Regions from separate parts of the Homo sapiens genome. Here region 2 is linked to region 1. Evidence: promoter capture Hi-C in 16 types of primary human blood cells and fetal thymus (Javierre and others, 2016). All regions are on one chromosome and are shown on one strand. Each heading gives the region's core, a stretch centred on a gene start or on the middle of the fragment in contact. The rest is flanking DNA. Distances are from core to core; before and after follow the strand shown.

What was found. Contacts are between HindIII fragments. The CHiCAGO score rates a contact against its expected background, and 5 or more counts as called.
Region 2: a contact is called between a fragment that was not itself captured here and the fragment with the promoter of PRR16 in region 1, in 4 of 17 cell types (M2 macrophages, neutrophils, M1 macrophages and 1 more). The highest score is 12.0, in M2 macrophages.

The regions. Positions count from the first base shown.
Region 1 is chr5:120,459,121-120,465,825 of GRCh38, reverse strand. PRR16 (proline rich 16) reads right to left here and starts at 1,526. Exons shown (of 2, transcript NM_001300783.2): 1 at 1,181-1,526. The coding sequence starts at 1,339. RefSeq lists an enhancer at 651-1,152 and a silencer at 1,558-1,607. The HindIII fragment of the contact is 2,017 bases long and covers 690-2,706 here.
Region 2 is chr5:119,939,836-119,946,679 of GRCh38, reverse strand. The region is part of intron 1 of LOC105379144 (a long non-coding RNA gene); the gene reads right to left. Among named protein-coding and RNA genes, the nearest start is that of FAM170A, 310 kb to the right of the region's middle. The HindIII fragment of the contact is 6,242 bases long and covers 747-6,844 here.

The sequences.
Region 1 (6,705 bases), core at 277-2,776:
CAGGATTACAATTTTGGACCTAGACTACGCCCCACCCCTTTTCCCGCTGCAGCCACCGCCACCTTCGAAGTTCTAGTCTTAGCTCTCACGCAGCGGAGCTGCGGACTCCCTCACCGAGAACCGCACCAGGACCCCATTCAGTAGTGAGCGGCGCGCTGGGACTCTGCTACCAGCTCCGCGACGCCGCCGGCAGCCAGCCTGGCTCGGGAGACCCCACCCCTCCCAGCCCGGCCCCCGCCCCCGCCCGGAGCCGCCGCCTGAGTTACGCAGCCTCAGCCCTGACACCTTCTCTGCTTCTTTCCATCTGGATCACCTGGGGCTAGGGGCGGGCGGGAGTAGGGCTGAACCGAAGTGGGATAGGAAAAGCGGGGAAGAACCGAAGCAGTCCCAGCTGCAGAGAGCCAGGACGCCAATGGCAAGACCCCGGCCACACATACACTCTCCTGCGCGTCCTGCTTCTCGGGTTCAATGCCAAGTGGCGACAGGGTGGAAGGAAGGAAGCAGAGGTAGGGTGGCGGGAAGGCCCAGAGTTACTGGTAACGACGTTCGGAGGAGAGCAGGGGATGCTTCAGAAACTGAGAAAGTGAGAAAGTCCCAGACCCCCTCCTTAGCCCCAAGGCTGCCAGCAGCCCGGGTCGCCTTCCCTACAGCGAGGCTCGAGAGACAGGGAGGGTAGTCTGAGCCAAGCTTCCTCCAGGCTGCCCTCCCTGATCTGGCCCAGGGCCCAGAACCCGGCCCCTCTTCAGCCCTGACTTGGGGAGGCTGACAGATAGGCAGCGGACTTGCCAAAGGACTCTGGGGAAGCAATAGGGCAGGAGAGGAGCATCTTGCACGCTCCAGCCGGGCTGCTCACGACTTCCTCTGCCGACACACCCCCAGCTAACCCTCTCCCCCGTCGTCACACACACAGATTCAGAGACACGCGTGCGTTCATCCCTCCCACCAGCCCAGGTCCATCGATTAAAACACTAGTTGATTTCTTCCTGATTAAAAAAAAAAATTAAAAAGTGCAACAACAACTCCTCTCAGGACTCCAGGAGCAAAGAAAGTCCGTCTGCAGGCGCCTTTTCTGTAGTTTCCCAGGAGTTTGGAAATCTGGCTGTCCCTGCTGAAAATCGGAAAGGGGACCCCGGAGGGGTCGAAGGGTGCCGAACTCCCTCCCCACCCCTGCGCCTCTCACCTCCTTAAGTTCCTTGGCCACGTCCTTCAGGTCGCCCAGGACTAATTCCAAATCCTCCACGATGATCTTGATCTGTTCCTTCACCTTGGTTTTGGAGGCTGCCGGCGGTCCCTCGGCTGGACAGGACGAGGAGGGGTTCCCCTTGGACTTGGCTGACATTCTTTGGGGGCAAGCGAGGCAGGTCAGGACAGGCGGGCGAGCGGAGGCTGCTGCGTGCCCCCGTCCCTGGCGCTGCTACGGCCGCTGCCGCCCCGGTCCCCCCACATCTTGGGCGCTCCCTGGGCAGCGGCGAGTGGCTGCGCTCCGCGCTCGGCCGGGCGGCCGCACAGTGGTGCTGCCATCAACTCCCGAGACGCGGCGCTCGGCTCGGGGCTGCAGACGGGCGAGCAGCGCGCCTGCGCCTCCTCCCGCCGCCGCCCGGCGCTCTCGCGCACACGCGCTCGCTCCCCGCCCGCGGAGAGGGGCGCCGTGCTGCCGCGCCAGGGTTGACGCTTGCAGTCCCCTCGACGTTGCCCTTCGAGATATCTCCCAGATGCCACCTTGGCATCAAGGTGGGGGAGACAAGTCCGTGTCCTGCCCGCCCCCTCCTCTTGGTTCTGAAATGTCCCCATCATCTCAGCCTGCTTGCTGTATGTCATCTCACAACTAGCCTGGATTCTTTCTGCTTCACTTGCTAGCAGGGACCTGGATCAATTCAGAAAGAACCACAGTGGGATCAGGAGTTGGAGACAGTCTGTAAAGTGGCCCTACAGATTTATCCAAACCCAAATGATGTCCAGAGGCCTTTAATCAATCTCTTGGTGACCTGCGAGTTAAGCAGACTTCTTAACTTCTGCAAGAAAAAAGGGGGGGGGGGGTGCACATAACAGCTAATGGTCATCTATTGAAACCATGAAATTCAACCAGTGTTCTTGAAAGAGGTACCCTAATCCTGCTAATTCCACAAAGCTAATACCGGATTTATTAATTTGAAGTCCCCACACCCCAAATCCTCTCTGATTGTCTCAGTCATCTTGGCTGTATGTCTTATTTGGCCCAACTCTTTTTTTTTTTTTTAACTGTCCTTCCTCTTTTTGTGACCTATGCTGATTTACATTTTGAGTGGAGTGGGGGAGACATCGTATTTGGACCTCGTGAAGGAGCTGAGTAAGAGATTGCCTCCAACTTCTCTTTCATCATTTTTTAAACCTCCATTTCAACTCTTTTGCTACTAAACAAATAGGAAACAACTTTCTGACTGTTCTGTCAAAAAGACCCAAGAAGGGAAGTTAATAGGAAGCCTTCGGTTCACTCTCAGTAGGTGTCTACAATTCTCATTAGCTAGAATTTTAACTTCCTTAGTTGTAAACCCATGGGCTATTAGCTACTGACCCAGCAGGCTGGCTCTACTTTATTTTCTTCACTGCACACTCCTCCAGATCATTCTTTTAATAGGCTTCCCCTTTTCGTCGTGCCTTAGCAAGGCTCTCTGTTTCTTGCTTCTCACACTCTGGGTAGCTCCACTGTGCTACACATAAAGAAAAGCTTGGCAGCTCTCCTCTTCCCAGTTCTGTAGGCTCTTAATCAATCACTCTCTTAATCCTGGACAATTCATCTTTACAAAACCTTTGGAAGTCATATGTGGAATATAGAGGAAGAAAGAGAACAGAAGAAAAAATTGAAATTTGAAAGTGGTGTCAAAAGAAAACCATTGAAAACTGCATTGAAAAATCAGGGGAAGAAATGAGAAAAGGTGAAAAGCAGATGCTGCTGGAAAGACTTAAGAAGAGATTATAAGAACAAGTCTGCAGCATGCAAACTGGAGAAAAGAAAAAGAGAAGAAATGATTAAAAGTGTGAAATAAGTAATATGCTTGAGTTCTCTGAGGTAGGGAGAATTAGATTTTTAAAACATCCTTTTTCTCCTCAAATTCTTTATTTTATAAAAAATATAACATTAAAATAATTATATCAGGTTTACAGACTCCCCAAAATTGTCAAAACTAGCAAAAGCTAATGGTAGGGGAAAAGAGAAAGTACTATTCTTCTAGATTGGAATTATTTTTGACTCTTAATAGTAGGCAAGTGTGTAAGAAAGCCGCCAAACTCAAAGTTAAGTGACTTTAGACAAGGATATGGGAGAGGAGGAAAGGAAATTGTGATTTCCCTCACAGTGACAAAATAATCCTCCCACAATATAAGAAGATGTCCATGCTACTCTGAATCTCATTCACTAAAGATTAAAAAAAAAAAAACAAAACAGGCTAGGCACAGTGGCTCATGCCTGTAATCCCAGCACTCTGGGAGGCCGAGATGGGTGGATCACAAGGTCAGGAGTTCAAGACCACCCTGGCCAAGATGGCAAAACCCCATCTCTATTAAAAATACAAAAATTAGCTGGGCATGGTGGCAGGAGCCTGTAATCCCAGCTACTCAGGAGGCTGAGGCAGAGAATTGCTTGAACCCGGGAGGTGGAGCTTGCAGTGAGCTGAGATCGTGCCAGTGCACTCCAGTCTGGGTGACAGAGCGAGATTCCGTCACAAAAACAAAACAAAAAAAACTGTTCTCTTCTGATACTCTGATATCCACTGCTGCTACTGAAACAAATAATTCTGACTTAAAATCAAATCATAATTATTGCTTAGAAACACACCACCCACACCCATATCACAGTTCACTCTGAAATAATCACTATCATCTATCTATCTATGTCTTTATACAATATAGAGTTAACTGAATAGGGAAAAGTTAAAATTGGCTTCCAGGCCCAAACTGAGAAAGCTGGTAGGATTGCAGCAGTGGTGTCTGTCCCTATCTTCTAGTCATTAAGGATCACTTAAAGCAAATCTCCATAAAATATGTCTAAAGAAGAAACTTTTATAAAGGGAATTATAAATATTGAGGAGAAGAAGACAGAATAAAAAGGGCCCATGAATATAAATCAAGTGTATTTACTTCCTATTTTTGTATTACCCTATGGAAAAATCTTTCATTCCTTTGGGTAATCCTAGACTCTCTCAGAGATCAGTATATAGGATGTTTTAGACTCCAGTTATAGAGACCAAACAGCAAAAGTGACACCTAATAAAATTTCTGGTAAATCTTTCTGTAAGTTCGTTAATGTACTAGTGCTAGCTGCAAATGTACACAACCAAACCACATTACTTATAAACTTAGACAGGATAATACATTTCTAAATAAAGGAGAGTCTTACTCATTTATAGAAGTGATTGCAAACCCAGGATTTTATTCTCCCTGTCTCTCTATTCATCATTTTCTGAGTTTTGTAACAGGAAGAATTGGATAATTACAGGAGATCATCTAGGTTTTGTTTCTTTAGTTACAAGCCTTTATCAGTATTCTCATGTGTATGCGTGTGTGTGTGTGTGTGTGTGTGTGTGTGTATGTGTAATCCACTGCAGTTGATCCCTAGTAATTAACCCACAGGAAAAAACTCTGTGACACTGACATAATTTTAAATTCACAAAAAGCATAAGAATATTCCCAAAATATTTTGTCTCACAGTTCAGCATAGCTGGGGAGGCCTTAGGAATCTTACAATCATGGGGGAAGGTGAAGGGGAAGCAAGGCACCTTCTTCACAAGGTAGCAGGAAGGAGAAGTGCGGAGTGAAGGGGGAAAAGCCCCTTATAAAACCATTAGATCTCATGAGGACTCACTCACTGTCATGAGAACAGCATGGGGGAAACTGCCCCCATGATTCAATTACCTCCACCTGGTCTCTTCTTTGACGCGTGGGAATTATGGGGATTACAAATCAAGACGAGATTTGGGTGGAGACACTAAGCCTAACCATATCAATGATATAGTTATGAAAAATTAGAAACGTTTTCCATACATATATTTACTATTAAACATATTTTATATGTCCAGGCAGTGGTTGAGAAAGCCTAGTACCCATCAGAACTTCTTTAAAAAAAAGATTGCTATACTCCCTGCCCCAAGGTTTGTAGTTCAGTATGTCTAGGATGAGGTCTAAAATGTGTATTTTAACAAATTTCTAGGATGCTGGTAGGGGACCACACTTTGAAAACCACCAATTTGAGAGATTAAAATAAAAACTTTAAGTTTCTTTTTACCTGGAATAAGCCTTAAAAATAATTTAGTTAAATTTCTGTTTGTTATAAGCTTTAAAGAGCATCTAGATAAATCTTAAATAAGTATAACTCTAAAGAGCATCTACTTAAATGTTAAGGCCTTAGTAGGCTAAATGGCATATCCAATATATCACATCTAGGGAACAATAAATTGAGAGCTAGAACTCCTTGTTCACTCATACATTTTATTAAATTGTCTCTATTGTTCTGGAGAATGTCTCCTTTTAATGTATCAACTGCTTCTGGCATGATGGCTATGTACTGTTGATGTATATAGGTTTTAAAAAATGAGATCTGGGAGTTTAAATGCAAGTACTCAACACAATATCCTGAGTAATTAGAACTGTGTCTATTGCAAAAAGGCTGATCAATAAATACTTAACAAAATGAATGAATGAGTAAACAGTTGTCTCTGTGTGTTTTGAAATTAATTCAACAAATATTTTTAAATGCTTGAGCAAGAATCAGTGCTAAGAGTAGTTGTGCCACTAGGTTTAATTAGACATAATCCCAGCAGGAACCACTAGATAATTCTCTACATGACTCTAATAAATACAAAGTGGGATTACTCCGAGTATCTCTTCCTGCCCTCATTCTTAACTATAGTGAGTTCATTTTATTTGACCTCTCCTATGGTCTGACTATCCCTCCAAAATTAATTTGAAATCCTATCTCCCAAGATAATGGTATTAGAAGATGGGGCCTTTGGGATTTATTAACTCATGAGGACAAAGCCCACATGAAGAGAATTAGTGTCCTCATAAAGGAGGTGCCAGAGAGCTTCCTCCCCATTTCCATCATGTGAGGCTATAGTGAGACCTGTCTCTAAAAGGAGGCAGAACCTCACCAGACACGAAATCTGTTAGTGCTTTGACCTTGGGATTCACAGGCCCCAGAATTGTGAGATATGAATTTGTATTGTTTATAAGCCATCTAGTCTGTGGTACTTTATTATAGCAGCCCAAATGGACTAAGAGAACATCCAATGTATGTTAATTGGAAGACTTTTTAACCATGTGACAAAATCTGAACTTTTGCACAACTCAACAGAAAAAATCGTCTCATAGTTGAACCATAGAAAAGTGAGGATAAAAATATCCTCAGGTAGAATTGGAGGCAGAAATTCTAGAATCATTGGGACTATTTCTTTCTGACTCTATTTCCCACTCCTCTTTTGTGGATTGGCCTCTTGCCTGTATACCATTTTCTCCACAAAATTGAACCTTGATCACTAGTAAGTTCAGGCTCACATTTTCACAACTTTACAACTAGAAAAGGATGGTCATCACAGCAAGCTCCCAGGAGAAAATTTTTATAGATCTGGCTTAGATCATGGACACACACTACAGCCAATCACTGTGATTTGGATGGGGTTGTAGAGTACAAAGCTACTATTACATTTGTGCCATTCTTATAGAAAAGTCATGGGT
Region 2 (6,844 bases), core at 2,618-5,117, 520 kb after region 1:
TGTTGGGAGATCTTTTACTTCCGAATCCAACTCCTTACTGGTTATTAGTCTTGTTCAAGTTTTCTCTGTCCTCTTGTATCAATCTTGGATTTTATTTATCCATTTCCTCTTGGTTTTCTAATGTTAGTGTGTAGTTTATCATGATGGTCTCTGATGATCTTTTGTACTTCTGTGGTATCAGTTGTAATAATTCCTTTCTCATTTCTGATTTTACTTATTTGGGTCTACTCTCTTTTCCTGCTTAGTCCAGCTAGGAGTTTATCAATTTTGTTTACCTGTTCAAATGAATAACTTTTTAATTTCATTTATTTTATTTATTTGTGTTTCTTTTTAGTGTCTATTTCATTTACTGCTTCTTGACCTTTATTATTTCTTTATTTCTACTAATTCCTGAGTTTCATTTATTCTTACTTTCCTAGTTCCTTCAGGTTCCTTAGGTTGTTTATTTGAAATCTTTCTACTTTTTTGAAGTAGGTATTTATTGTAGTAAACTTCCTTCTTACCACTGCTTTTGCTGTATCCCATAAGTTTTGGTACATTGTATTTACATTTTCATTTGTTTCAAGAAATTTTTTCATCTTCCTAATTTCTTCATGGACACAGTGCTCATTCAGGAGCACATTGTTTAATTTCCATGTATTTGTACAGTTTTTAAACTTCCTCTTGTTTTTGATTTCTAGTTTTATTCCATTGTGGTATGAGAAGATGCTTGACATGATTTCAATTTTAAAAAATTTGTTGAAGCTTGTTTTGTGGTCTAACATATGGTCTATCCTGGAGAATGTCCCATGTGCTTATAAGTAAGCATATTCTGCAGCTGTTGAATGAAATGCTCTGTAAATGTCTGTTACATCCATTTAATCTAACCTGCAGTTTAAATCCAATGTTTCTCTGTTAATTTTCTCTCTAGATGTTCTGTCCAATGCTGAGAATGGGGTATTGAGGTTTCCAACTGTTACTGTAGATTTTTTCTGTTCAAAATTTCAGGTAGACTTTCATTTTGGCAAATATTATAGCCTGGATTGAAATTGCATTCTTTACTAAAGAATCTGTTCTTGTTTCTGTCAGCTCTTCAGCTATACTCCTAATCAAATATCACCTCAAATAAAGTTTTAGATGAAGTTGAATGTTTCCAGATTGAGAGTGTGAATTTGGGCCATAAATTCATGTGGGGACAGGATTTGAGTTACAAACTTTCTTCTTTCTACACCATCATGGTTGAAACAAGGGAGTGTCCTTCCTACCTCCATTGGTGGGTGAATGTCTTCTTCTACTGAGGATATAGCTTTTTGGGTCCTGGCTCTGGGGAATAATCTTCTTTCAGTTTCCCTAACTTATGCAGGCCGGGTTTACATTCTTTTCCCCAACCTCTGAAAATGGATCTTCAGAGTTATCATTAATTGATAATTGCCCCAGTATGGCCAGCTATTCTGTGCTTGCTGAACTTTCTGAACTTCTGCTTACATTCTGTTTTTAGTCTCTGAATATTTTCCTTATTTTCTTGTCAGCTCAATACACCATGGAATACTATGCAGCCATAAAAAAGAATGAAATCATGTCCTTTGCAGGGACATGGATGGAGCTGGAGGCCATTATCCTTCGCAAACTAACAAAGAAACAGAAAACCAAGTACCACATGTTCTCACTTATAAGTGAGAGCTAAATAATGAGAACACATGGACACATACAGGGGAACAACACACACTGGGGCCTTTCAGAGAGTGGAAGGTGGGAAGAGGGAGAGGATAATGAAAAATAACTAATGAGTACCAGGATTAATAGCTTGGTGATGAAATAATCTATACAACAAACTCCCATGACTCAAGTTTACCTATGTAACAAACCTGCACATGTACCCCTGAACTTCAAAGTAAAAAAAAAAATTTAATATATTTGCTAATGTTTTTTCAATGTTCTAATTATTTTGAAGTGAAAGGTTTGTTAAGGGTCTTTGGACCACTATATCATCAGAAATTGAAAACTCATATATTTATTCAAATTGTTTACCTGAAAAACCTTATCAACTAATAGTAATGTAATTCATATTGTTGGTACCAAAAAAACAAAGACAAACTAAGTGTTTGACAGTTTGAGAGTAAACTGGATAGATTAATATTATACTGATTTTGATCTAAATATCTAAGGTTCCAATTATGAAGGATCTTTAAAAAGCAATCATTTTCTGCATTCAATACAACCCAAAGATTATATTCAAAACAGCACAAGTACCAGTGGATTAGACAAAAGCAGACAATATCCATACTTGTGAGTACCTGCAATATTTCTACACTGACAGGTAGAGAGGTGAAGAGGGAAGGGTATTATACATGAACCCACTTCTCCCCAACTTCCAAGAAGGGATTTTAGTGGTGTACATGTGAATACGACAGAAAGTAAATGAACAGTGAGTTTGCCCAAAGACTCTTTTTTACATCTTGTATGAATCTAAAAAGTAGGTAAAAGACTGACTGAGGATTTTTAGGTTCAAGATTCAAAACAATTAAAGGCAACATTTAAATAAGGGTGGTAAGTTATACTGCTTACCAGATACTAAAGCTGGTTTTTGTACTTGGGCCCCTATACTTTAACTTTATTTTGGAGGCCTATAAATACTCCAAAATGGGCATCTCTCATCCTCTTTCATATAAAGGCTATGTATGAGAAGAAAATAAGTCATGTCAATAAAAAGAACAAAATAAACTATCTTCATAAAGTCATTCAGCACATAAATACATCTTTTAATTTTTACTTTTTCATTTACTTTTGCTTAAAAATATTACCTTGGGTGATAAGGACAATTAGGAGAAGGTAATATTTTTAAGCAATTGCCTTGGGTGATTAGGACAATTGCTTAAAAATATTACCTTGGGTGATTAGGACAATTAATATCCTAATTCTAAAAGTCCTAAATCTCTTAATGTGTTACATCAAAAACCAAACAAGACTCATCTTATTGTGCTCTTAGCCTCTAAAGAAACCAACCCCAACTCTTTCTAATCATCAGCTAACTCACTGTTCACAATCAACTTACATTTAATTCCCATGAAACACCACCAAGATCACTGTCAGGGACATGTACATCAGTCAGGCAGGCCTCATTGCTTTTTTGTACTATACTTCATTTCTACTAACAGGACAGAAGTTTGGGGAGTTGCCGCATTCCAACAGGAATCTGGCAAGATTCAATGAGGATTTTTTATAGTAGCTTATGGTCTAAGATATCACTAAACTTCATCATCATACTGAGAAGCCAACACTAGTTACAGACATGCTGCTGTACTGGAATCACCAATATAAAGATTCAAGATAAGCACAGGACAGTGATTAGTGGACTCAAATGCCACCTACAGGCTATAACTTTATTTAATTTTTTTATTAAGACAAGATTAAATGCAATATTTAAAGAGAGGTGGTAAGTTACACTGCTCACAAGAAACTAAAGTTGATTCTTGTGTTTGAGCCCTTCGGTAGTTTAATGTTATTTGAGTGACCCATAAGTACTCCACAGTGAGTACAATATAAAATATAACAAAGTTCTAGTATTCTAATGAGACTACAATCTGGTATATTTAAAAGATGACAAAAGAATTAATAACAAATATATTGACATTAATACTATTTCCTTTTTGTGTTTTTTAACCTGCTTAGATCATTAACCTTTGATAGCTAATAAAAAGGATCTCATTACAGGTATAGGTTATGTCTACACAGTAATCAGTGAGGCACTTAGATGATATTACAGATAATTTATCTGTATAATAATTACCAAAAATCATCAAATATTAAATAAGTACCTACCCTGAAATGGGCACTGTGATAATCAAAAAATCGATTCTGGAGATTTGCATTATGCAGTTTGCCTATCTACCTTAATTGAAATTAATTGCATTATAAAATTGACCTGCCTTAATTGAAATTAAATGATTAAAATTAAATAACCAAGCAAATATTTGTTAAGCTGCTGCTATGTTCCCAACACTGAGCTAGTTAGAGGTGATACAAGGAAATGAAAAGTTTTGTCATCAGATTGTTAACAATGTAATTAGGGAGAGGAGACCTATACAAATCAAAACACAAAGGAGAGTTCCAGGGAGCAAGAGTCATAAAAATTGAGAAACACAAGAGATTATAGAATAACTAGGTTCTTAATTAGACCTAAAACTGATAAACTTAAGTGGAGGGGAAAATAGCAAAAGAGATGTGGCAGCAAAAATCATGAGGTATACATGCTCAAGAAACATTCATGGCCAAAACCATATTTCTTCAGCATCTGTTTTATTAAAGATCTATAAACTTTTTTATTTTTCACAATAACTCTTTAAGGTGACTACTATTATTATTCCTGTCTTATAGATGAAGAGACTGTGACTCAGAGAAGCTGAATAACTTGACCAAAGCCTTTGAACTGATAAGTAGCAAAATCAGAATTCAAACCCAATACTTTATCATTCCAAATTGGGTGCTCTGAACCACTATGCCTGCAATAAATAAACCATCTGCCTTTAAAGAAAAGAGTGTATGGCATGAGATAAATTTGGGAGGTATAACAGCCAGGCAACAGATGGTACATTGAAATTGGGTTATTCGAGTTGAGTTTTGATACAGGGAACATTTACAAAGGTATGTGCAGAGTGTAGGAAAGCCACAAGAATATGGCAGTATTCCAGTGCTAGGAAAAACCACTTCCACCCCTCATCCTGAAGGATGGAGTGAGGTGTGGGAATTTCCAGACCCCAGAAGGAGAGAGCCTTGGGGAGTGGGGTGCCTGACAAGATGCATGACTTTTTGTAGAAAAGAGGAAGCTGGGTAAATAAATTCCCTGACCTGACCCTCTTCCTTTGTTTCTATTTCCCACTGGAGGTCTCATTGATGGAGTTTATGCAGATCAGTCACCCAGAGCCAAAGAGTAACTGAAAAAGAGTGGAGAATGGATCTAGAGAAGCAAATACAAGGTAGACATCACTAGGATGTTCTAGGAGGGTCTTGAGGCTAACTTATTTAGATTTTATTCTGTTGGGAATGGAGGACCAATAAATGTTTGGGTGGGCGAGAATTGTATATGGAAGAACTGCTTCAGGGAAACTAAATTTGTTATTAATGTAGATAGAATAAAAAGGCTGGCTGCAAAAACACTTTTGGAAAAAAATTAGAAAGCTCTGGTAGTGACTTTATGAGCCTAATAGTGAATAGTCTAGCAGAACAGAAAGAAAGAGGCTTAATGAACTGTCTATAATATTATAAAGAAATAAACTTGACTCCCAATCACACAGATAACATGATCCATTGATGAAATAATTTAGTTCTCCCTTCTCTCTCTTCTGCTTTCTATTTTGCACATTTGGGGATTTATTTTAATGGCTTCACAATCATGCCTTTCAGTCCATCATCAAATTCCTTATGCAACTATCTGGTAACATAAGCTGAGTAGTTAAGACAATAGCTCTCAGGATTGATGATCTCATTTTGGATATTAAGGGGGAAGAGGGAGAGAAACAGGAAGATAACATATACTGAAATCTTATGGCATGCTGTTTAATGCGCTCAGCGATTTTACATTTAAATTCCCCAGTACACCTGGGAGACAGGTATCACTTTTATTTAACAGACAAAAAAACCCTGTTCAAGTTCACTAAGTAAAAATAATCATTAGAAATAATAATAATGAGCTAAGTTAATGAAAGACATTATATGAATGTTAACGGAATCTGAGTATTTATCTTTGTTTTGTATTATTTTGAGACTTAGTAACCCTAATCAAAACATCCTCAGTATCACAATACATGGTTCTGTTTAAAATAAAATTAATTTTTCAAAATATATTAATTTTATTCTGAAAATAATCAATTAAGTAAGATGATTTTTAAAAAGAGGTCTAGGAGGCAAAATAACTTTCCTGAAAATGGAGAATGTCAAAGACAATATCAAACTGCATCTTACGTAAATGATTCTTCTTTCGGACTCACAATATATTATAATCTTTTGAGTTAACATTATATCAATATGTGAATTTTATGCATAATGAAATCTTTAAAAGACCCCAAACCAATGCTGTGTTGAATGCCTATAAAAGTGGCTTAGTCTCCAGATACACCCAAAAGAAAGAGGCTAATGGTAGAAGTTGAAGTAGGGAGAGAAAGTGAAAGGCACATTTCAGGACTATAGTTTTTATTAGTTTCCATCTTTGATTGATGCTACCAGTGAAGAGGTTGCTGGAATGGCAAATAAAAGAATAAGAAAATGAGTGGGCTCAAACCAAGAAGTCATGGCAAGAAGAAAGGCACTCAGTTCTAAGTTCAGGACATGCAGAAATAGTCAAAATAAAATGTTATTCTTAGTAATCCAACAGTAGCTATAAGGTGCCACCAAGACAGAAAAAATTCTAGCCTACACAATTAGAGAATAACATGGCTATGTGACAAACAGTCTGAAAGAGCTACTGTCAGGCAATAGCTCTCACTCAATACTATCTTAAAGAGCTACTGTCAGGCAATACTATCAGTCAATAGCTTTGCTTCTAAGAGAAGCACCAGAAGACAAAGGGAGATTTTCCAACACCGGAAAAAGTAAGACATTCTCCAGGTTTTTCAAATAACTTCAATCTCGGGCTTATGTTCTTGAAATTTCCCAGGTAACCTCTGTATGGTGAGTCTGTAGAGACAGACTTGTAGACACAGAACTACATGCCACAGGACTGAGCTAGCACTGGTACCAAAGCACTCAAAATGTCATCATGCTTCTTCACATCATGTATTAGGTTTATAGAGGATGGGTAATAAATGGAGTTTTTGTTCAATTTTGTCTCACAATAGGCCCAACAGGTCTAAGGACTCACTTTGTAATCATA